Linked DNA regions of Homo sapiens: region 2 is linked to region 1. Evidence: promoter capture Hi-C in human tissues and cell types (Jung and others, 2019). All regions are on one chromosome and are shown on one strand. Each heading gives the region's core, a stretch centred on a gene start or on the middle of the fragment in contact. The rest is flanking DNA. Distances are from core to core; before and after follow the strand shown.

Evidence for each region. Contacts are between HindIII fragments. The study calls those that stand out against the background at their distance.
Region 2: a contact is called between a fragment that was not itself captured here and the fragment with the promoter of UBAP2 in region 1, in 2 of the 25 tissues and cell types used here (lymphoblastoid cells and spleen).

Annotation. Positions count from the first base shown.
Region 1 is chr9:34,045,959-34,050,369 of GRCh38, forward strand. It overlaps UBAP2 (ubiquitin associated protein 2), which reads right to left and starts at 2,929. Exons shown (of 29, transcript NM_001370062.2): 1 at 2,867-2,929. It also overlaps the pseudogene RN7SKP114. RefSeq lists enhancers at 2,039-2,895, 2,896-3,751, 3,032-3,561, 3,752-4,411 and silencers at 2,712-2,761, 2,912-3,001. The HindIII fragment of the contact is 41,306 bases long and covers 1-4,411 here.
Region 2 is chr9:33,920,945-33,925,303 of GRCh38, forward strand. It overlaps UBAP2 (ubiquitin associated protein 2), which reads right to left. Exons shown (of 29, transcript NM_001370062.2): 23 at 3,262-3,340; 24 at 2,851-3,056; 25 at 2,435-2,534; 26 at 2,242-2,349; 27 at 2,022-2,089; 28 at 1,743-1,934; 29 at 749-1,655. The coding sequence ends at 1,560. Among named protein-coding and RNA genes, the nearest start is that of SNORD121B, 11 kb to the right of the region's middle. RefSeq lists an enhancer at 4,172-4,359. The HindIII fragment of the contact is 6,345 bases long and covers 1-4,359 here.

The DNA of each region.
Region 1 (4,411 bases), core at 1,679-4,178:
TCTAAAATCTATCAGAGATCTACTAACTTACCAGTCAACACCATGGGTACCATAACACTTAGCTTTTAAGAACGCTCCATTTACTCAAAATAACAACTAAGAGCTCCATTTACTCAAAATAACAACTAAGAATGAACGGGTATTTGCTGACATACAGGTTTCTCACAAGGAAAAATAAAGACAGATGTGCTTAAGGGCAGAGAACTTTACAATCTGTAAATGCCTGCAGACTGCTTCTTTAGAGCAGGCATTAACCCTTGCTAATATACTTAACCACCCCCACCCCCCAACCCCACAAAGTGTCTTATTAACAAAGGAAATCTTAACAATAAATCATCATTTAAAAAAAAAAAAAAGAGGACTGGGAAATCAACAATTCAAAGCTAACATTTTAGAAGTAAAGGCTTCATGCCGGGCGGGGTGGCTCACGCCTGCAATCCCAGCACTTTGGGAGGCAGGCGGATCACGGGGTCAGGAGATCAAGACCATCCCGGCTAACACAGTGAAACCCCATCTCTACTGAAAAATACAAAAAATTAGCCGGGCGTGGTGGTGGGTGCCTGTAGTGCCAGCTACTCGGGAGGCTGAGCCAGGAGAATGGCGTGAACCCGGGAGGCGGAGCTTGCAGTGAGCCGAGATCAGGCCACTGCACTCCAGCCTGGGCGACAGAACAAGACTCCATCTCAAAAAAAAAAAAAAAAAAAAAAAAAAAAAGAAGGCTTCACTTCAGACCACTCCAAACCTTCAAGAAAGGTTTGTACTTTCTACACATATTTTATACTTAAGAGGGTAGATACCGGGACCAGTTCCCATCACAATACAAGTACATATTGAAATAAACCTATTAGTCTACATGTTCTCACACCATCACACCATTTCTCCCCATACAATAAAAGTCACTCAGGCTAATACTAAGAGAGACACTCCTGGTGATCACTACATAGACTGCACTAGTAACCAGGAAAGGGAAGCAGAGGTGTTATTGTTGTTCCAATATAGTTCTAAAGGCAACTCCATGTGACTACTGCTGATCCAGCCCACATTTAAAGGGAGGACAGAGGAAACCAGAGCAGCAGGAAACAGGCAAGAGAGGCAATTACCACAACCCTTTCCCATGGCCTCATTCTCTCCCATGCCACCACTTTCGGGCATATTTCAATCACAACAAAAACCTTCCTTCTCTGAAAGGTTTCATAATTATTGAGGGTGAGAGGCAACAGGGAAGCAAATGGGGGAAATCAGCGCTGTGGGAAAATCTCTCGTCACACGTATCAACTAGCCATAAGTAGGAAAATCAGGAGTATGCTGGCAGCAAGCAAAAGGGCAGTTTGGGAAACTAATCACTTCTGCCTAATGATAAGAGAAGCCTTCAAAGCAATGGAAGGACAACCCTAGCGAAGGGGCTCCACAGGTGAGTGTATTGAAGGAAACTATCATCTCCAGGGAGTGGAATACATTCCCTTTCCTGAGGTAAAAGGGGAACACACCAATGTAGGATACGGGAGAGCTTAGGTATCATGTTCAACTTCCTTCCACCTTTCACAAACTGGCACTAAAACGGATACACAATTCACAGTGAAAAGTGAGGAATGCAATAACTAGTCGCATACCCCTTGTTGAAAAAAGTGCTGTCACAACGGAAGAGGAATATAAGAACTGGGTTCACCCAAGAAATTATATGCCCTTCAAATAAAAGATAATCTTTGGATACCTTATGGAGACCTGAAAAAACCCTCAACTAGCTGAGCACCGTGGTGCACACTGTAATCCCAGATACTCAGGAGGCTGAGGTGAAAGAATCGCTTAAACCCAGGAGCTGGAGGCCAGCCTGGGCAACATATGGAGACCATATCTCTAAAATTAATAGTAATTTTTTAAAATCTCTCAACTGTTAGGATACACTGGTGCTGTAGAAAGACAATAAGCCTAAATACTGGCAAACCATATACCTTCCTTGAATGTGAGGTAAAAACAATATCCAATAGAAGTGGTAGTAAATGACTGGATTACATCAAACAGGAAATAACAGTAATAATGATGGGATCAACCCCTAAAGCGAGCAAGCATTAGAGACCAGAGTGGTGACAGTTGAGATGCGTGGGCAACTAATTAGACTAAAAACTCAGGGGAAAATGTGGAAAAGCCGAGTGGGAAAGTGATTCAGAGGCAAACAACTGAGTTGTAATGCACCAATGAAAGAATAACATTTTGAGTATGTATTATTAACAGAGAGAGCTTTGCCGTTTACAAAGCGCTCAAAAACCTACATTAAATAATGAACTGTGATATAACCAGACTACAGGAACGGCGGGTGTGGAGGAAAACTGAGTCCCAATTGAGACCAATGCCCTACAGAATTGAAAAGAAGTAGAACTGAACTGTGACTCCGGGTAAGCCAGGAAAGGTTAGAGAGCGCATAAGTTGGGGCTATAACAGGGCCAGTCCCAAGACTAGCTACGGGCGTGAAAGCGGAAAGGTGATGAGATGGGACCGACAGCGTGGCGGGGAAGCTCCAGTCTACTGGCAGGCACCGAGGTGGGAGAGAAAACCACACCCTCCAGGGCAGAAACCCGAAAGGGGGGAGGGGAGGCACCCCTGGGGCTGGGTGGGGCCCAGCCGACCTGGACGGGGGAAAGTAGGAAGAAGCACAGGGCAACGTGAGGGGAAGAGGAAGGAGGGAGCCCGGGCCTGGACGTAGAGGGACCGTGGACCTGGCGAGTGAAGCTCGGCCCGGTCCTCACGGGTGGGCGCCGGGGCAGTCTGCAGGCGGTGGGGTTTCAGACGAGCTGAACCCAGAATTAGAAAGCACACGCTGCAGCGCTCAGGGCCCTGGAAGAGGGAAGGAGAGGGAGAGGATGGCAATTACCGCTGCTGCTCTCGGAGGACCCAAGACCCGCTGCCGCCGCCGCCGCTCGTTACCTGCCAATGTGCCTCTTACAAAGCGGCGGCGGCGGCACAGGCTGCCCAACCCGTCACGTGACCTCGCGTCACGGGCGAAGGAGGAGCCACAACACGTCGCTCGTGCGCGGCTTCAGAGTCAGCCTAGGCGGCGCGCGGCCTCTTCCAGCCACCACCTCCACCCCAACCCCGCGAAGCCAACCGCGTGGAGGTGGGGACCACAGAAAGGAACAAATAAGGGAGACTTGATAATATGTATTGTACTCGGAGTCATCAGGAGAGTATTACCCACCGCATACAAGGTGCCCACAACTGCAGCTCGTCGTCGCGCCGTGATGACCTCACAAAGCACCACAGGTTACTCCCCTGTGGCCGCCCTGTGCTCATCACGTGATGTGGTCCAACCACTCAGGGCAAGCCTGGCCTCCCAAATGTTGCACGAGGGGACCACGACTCCCAACATGCTGCACAGCCAAGGCGACCCCTACCGCAGCCTTTCTCCAGCGGGCTTCTAGACGAACCCCCTAGAGACCTTAGAGCCGAGGGAAGGCCGGGACGGAAAGCGGACTAAGCTGGCTTGAAGGACTAATACCATTGGATGCCGCCCGCCATGTGGCGGAGCGTGGTGCCTGCTGGGAGGTGTAGTCCTGGCGGGGGGTGGGGTTCCGCTCCCACGTTCCTGGGCTCGCTCTGCGCCCTGCCCCCTGCGCGGGAAAACGCCAACGGCTAGCAGCGAGAGCCTCGGCAAGGCGGAAGGTGCGCCCACTTTTAGTCTTTTTCAGTGCGGTTTTACTTTTGCCCTCCCAAGCCCCTTCTGGGTGAAAAGACTAGAATCTACTGAACGCCTACTCCAAGTCAGCCGTTTATTTCTGTTATATCATATAATCAACTCCTTGAGTCCAGGATTTTCCCTATTTAAGGATTTAAAAAAAGAACCTTAGAGTTGTTTGTTGACCGAAGAGACCCAGGTTTTCTGTCTTTAGAAAATTAATGACCTCCTCTCAATAGGATCTGACCTGTTGTCAACTCCAAGAATTACGAATAAATAAGATGATGGTTTATAATTGTAGCATGGTGTTTTAAAGTATTTTCCATTTACTGGCCTGTTTGGATGTGAGGGCGTTCTGGCTATCTTGTCACCCCATAGATCGCCAGGGCTGATTCGGCTGATCTGGCTGTCTAGGCGGGTGGCCCCTTCCTCCCGCACCTCTCCATGTGCGTCCCTCCCGAAGCTGCATATTCGGTCGAAAAGGAGGAGCATCCCCCATAGAAGAGGACAAGTCAAGGATATAGGAGTAGCTGCACGCCCGTGTTAACAAGCTCTCAAGGTCCTCTAAACAAGCTCTCAAGGTCTACTTACTGGCCTGTTTTATCCCAAGCTAGTTACATACAAGGACTTTGCAGTCCCGGCATGCCTTATCTCAATTGGAGCTTTCCTCTGTAATAACACTTCACCGGCTTGTGAAAATTAAATGAGATTATGTAAAATGCCTGCTTGACACATAATAAACCC
Region 2 (4,359 bases), core at 1,161-3,660, 130 kb before region 1:
TAGCCATTTTATTTCCTCCTTTAACCTGATCTGAAGCAGCGATTTAGGAGTGAAAAGAGAGGCTGTAGCACCTTGGGCAACACTTCTAGGCCCTGAGCTTCCTGCCTGCTGGATTGGAGCACAGTTGTGGTTGGCCAACAGGAGATCTGCCTCCTTCCTATGGCCCTTGGTTACTCCCTGGCTTCTGACCTGACACAAGGTGAATGGTTGGTTGGGCTTTTCTGGAGCAGATATGTAGCCCCGGATCCACCAGCCTACCTCATGACACCCTCACTAGTCACGTGTTCTACCATAGCTTTTGACTGCCAATCAAGATTATGTTCAGTTGATGACAAGCAAAAGACAGGTATACCTGTTCATACTCTCCCTTAAGGCCTAGAACCCTGCTCTCAGTTCTTGGCTTTGCTTCAGATTGTAAAAGTCCACTGAGATTTGGAAAAGAAATTACCCTGCCCTGGTATCCAGTGGACAGGGCTCTGTGGGACACTGCCCTATCCCTAAGTCTCTTAAGGAGCTATAAGAAAAGCCAGGTTAACTTTGATCAACATGGCCTGGGCCCTGTAAGGAGGTTTAGCTGTCCTTACAGCCATTGTGATTTGGGCCAAGAGGGTCCAGTAAAAAGGAAAACCATTTCAAGCCTTTATAGCCTGTGTCAGAAGACTATGACCATGTGGGATCTCCTTTAGCCCTGTGAAGTCCAGGGCTTCTGCCCTGAGCTGCCCTTCAGTCACACCACACAGAGACCATGCATGCTCTCAGAACTTTATTAGGTGGGGATTGGGCAAGAGAAAACCCCTGAAACAGTTGCCCACGTGGTTCAAGACAACTAGAATGGAGATGTGTTGCTTGGAGATACCTTAGATTTTTAAAGGGGAGCTGACTGGCTGAATAACTCAGATTATTTTTTTTTTTTTCATGGTCAGCCAGTCTCTAGTAAGTCTCTAGGGACATGACCAGACCAGAAGCCCCTGTTCTATATGAAGACAAACAGGTGGCCATACTTGGGTGGAGGGATACCGCTGCTATTCCCAGATGAAGATTTGGTGGAAGGAGACCATGACAGATGACAAACGGAACAGTTTCTCAAAAACAGAGGTATGAAGTAATTACACAGGAAAGAAAACAATTTCCAAAGGAGTGAGACAAGTCGTGATTCTTCATTGGTACCTGACCCCTATACCCAAACAGCCTTGAACCAGCCCTTCCAGAGACTGCCCCTAGTGGCCCACTGGGCAGTGCAGGCTGTGAAGAAGACCTGAAGGCAGATGGGGTGGGGGTGCTTATTTTGCTACAGTGGAGAAGGGGCTTGAATGGGGAGGGCAGACCTGGCTAACATCTGCCGCCATCCCCCAACTCCCCCCCAGACTTCTATCACATTTACAAATACATACATAAATACATTACATACAGTAGCCAGTCTGGGAGGCAGACTCCCCACAGAGGCATGGCTGACACATGTCGGGAATTCTAGGAAAGGGCACTGGGCTCCCAAATACGTGCTCGTGTGTTCTCTCCTGCCCAGGATAAGCCTTGCCCCAGCCCACCCCTCTCTTCTGGGTTTAGTTTGTCCAGTATGGAGAGTTGCCGTAGGCAGGTTTGGAGGCTTGAGACTTGGGCTGCAGGGAGCTGGGCTGGCTGCGCTGACCCGAGCCACTCTGAGGAAGAGGAGAAGGGAAGGCTGTCAAGGCTGGAGCAGAACCCCTGGCCCAGAGTAGGGTGGCTGCCTCCATCACTGTACTCACCTGTGCATCCTGCGGAAGGTGGTGGTGCAGCAGCTGTGAGTGGGGCTGCTGGTGGGCTGGCAAGATGTGTAGGAATGGTGGGGGTGCATAGCCAGGGGCCGCTCCCGAGGCCAGGGGCCCAGTGGAGCCCAAGACCGAGGGCAGGCTGAAAGGTGGAGGCGTCCCTGCATGAAATCCCTGCTTGTCAAAAGTCTACAGGGCAAAGAAGACAATGGTGAAGGTCAGGTTGGGCTGTAACCTCTCAAAAACCTATACACCCAACCCACCTTTGTCCCTCACCTGTGTCTTATTGTAGACAGAACCAGTCATATCAGGTAGACCAGTGGTGCTTGAAGACACTGATACTCCTAGGAGGAAAAGCAGTTGTTCCCCACAGCAGTTGTTCCCAGCTCCAGGCTCCCCACCTCCAGGATCACTCAGGGGTTGCCCTGCCTGAGAGGGGATCAGGCAGGAGCCCACCACTCCAGGCCTTATCCTGGAAAGGAGAGGTAAACACTACCTTTGCCAGGCCCAGAACCTGCAGACTTGTTTGGTGCCTGCGATGATCCAGCATAGCCACCTTTGGAGTAGTCTCCTGCTGCTGTCCCCTGGGTCAGGTCGTCATAACCTAGCGTGGCAGGGTACAAGAGGCAAGTGTGAGCCAGGCAAGCCTGTCTAACCCCATGTGTCTCTGTCTGGGAAGTACCCCTCACCTGTACTGTAGCCGTGCTGGCCATAACCACTGGCCTGCTGGAAGGGAGGTGTGGGAGTGCTGAGGTTCACCCCATGTTGCTTGGCTGAGGCTGGAGGGACCTGGGGGGGCAAGCAGATGAGGTATTAGTGTAGGAAGAGGCAAGCTGAGGCTGGTCAGGTACCCCTGCCAGAGCCTAAGGCAGCAGGTGACATACCCACAACCACAGGGGACCTGTGTTTTCATTAGTGCAACACATGCTGGATCTAAACACAGCAGGGGAAAAGTGACCTTGTCCCCAGCCTGAACAGTTTCTGAAGACCAGGTAAGACGGAGTGGAATCACAACCCTCCCTCCCTGCTGGAAGATAGGTCCCAGGTTTCCACCTGCCAGCAACCCAAGGCCAGGAGACACAGTCACACCCTCTGAAATACTCACAAACATGGTGGGGCCATACTGGAAGGCACTGGGCATGCCTGTGTAGTAGGGAAGACCAGTGTAGCTATAGCCAGGTGGCAGTGCAGGATTCACGAAGGGCTGCTGGGCTGTGTGGTGGGTCTGTGATTGGCTCTGCTGTGGCTGAGCTGGTGTGGTAGCGGGTGCAGGGGATGCAGAGTCCCCACGGCCAAACTTTGTGACATCACCTAGGAAAGAGCACTGACTCCAGCCACTGCCCTTCCTCCAACCAGAGAAAGGCCACACTGGCTTCTGCAAACAGGAACAGGTCTGGCTGCCAGCTCAGCACAGGCTACTAAGAGGCCTCTCTCAGCTTGCTGTTGCTGCTTCCCAGCTCCTGGAGTTCGCGCTAGGCCGGCCCCGGGCTACTCCTCATCCATTGAGCAAACTCACCTGGATATGGATTATTAGCTAGGCTCCCATCTCGGCTGGCAAGCGCTGTGGGTGCAGCAAAGGGAATTCCATAGTAGTCCTAGGAGAGACCAGGGAGGCTTGATCAGCGACTGGCCCTGCTTGACTCCCAGGAGAGCAGAACCAGCACATGGAAGTGGTGACGCCACACTCCTGAAACAGACTCCATGCCTGAGAGCCAGCAGTCCCAGGGAACGCCAAGTAAATGGTGCCCCTCGGAAGAGTGTGCAACTAGGCGGCCTGCCTAACACATAAGCACACAGACCGGCCAACCCTGCAGCTTCACCAGGCAGAGCTGCTGGAGACCAAGCCTCACACATCCATTTGACACCACAGGCAGGTGCTTGTGTGAATGCCTCGGGCTGAACCAACTTCGCTGGCTTTTCTGTGTGAGAGACTAGAGCAGCTAGGAAAGCTGACTAAACAGAGCAGACCTGAAAAAGGAGGCAACAGAAGTGCAGGGGCCTGAAAGGTTTAAGGGGGGACAGGGGGCAGTGCCAGGTAGGCACGGGAATAAGCAGGACCCCAGGTGAAGCCCAGAACTGGCCTGTCACCACCTACACTGCTCTCAAAACACTGACATGGCCTAGGACAAGCTTGTCCAACCCACGGCCCATGACAGCTTTGAATGTGGCCCAACACAAATTCGTCTTTCTTAAAACATGAAATTTGTTTGCAATTTTTTTAAGCTCATCAGCTATCTTTAATGTTAGTGTATTTTATGTGTGGCCCAAGACAATTATTCTTTCAATGTGGCCCAAGGAAGCCAAAACATTGGACACCCCTGGCCCAGGACTTGGGGGAAGTATGGCAGATACAACAAAGTGTGGAGACAGAGACGGCAAAGCACAGTGGAGCTTCGTGGAGGAGGGGAGGTCTGACCTGACCCTCACTCACCATCCAGGGCCTCGCACTCCTGGACACACCTGGCCCCTGAGGAAAGGCAAAGCCCTTGGGCTGTGCCCGATCCCAGAAAGGAGCCATCCTGGCTGGGAATGGCACTCACACCCTCCAGGAAACCTCCCGGAAACCCATAGCAGCCTAGAACCCCCGGAAGAGGCAGAGCTGGGAACACACAGA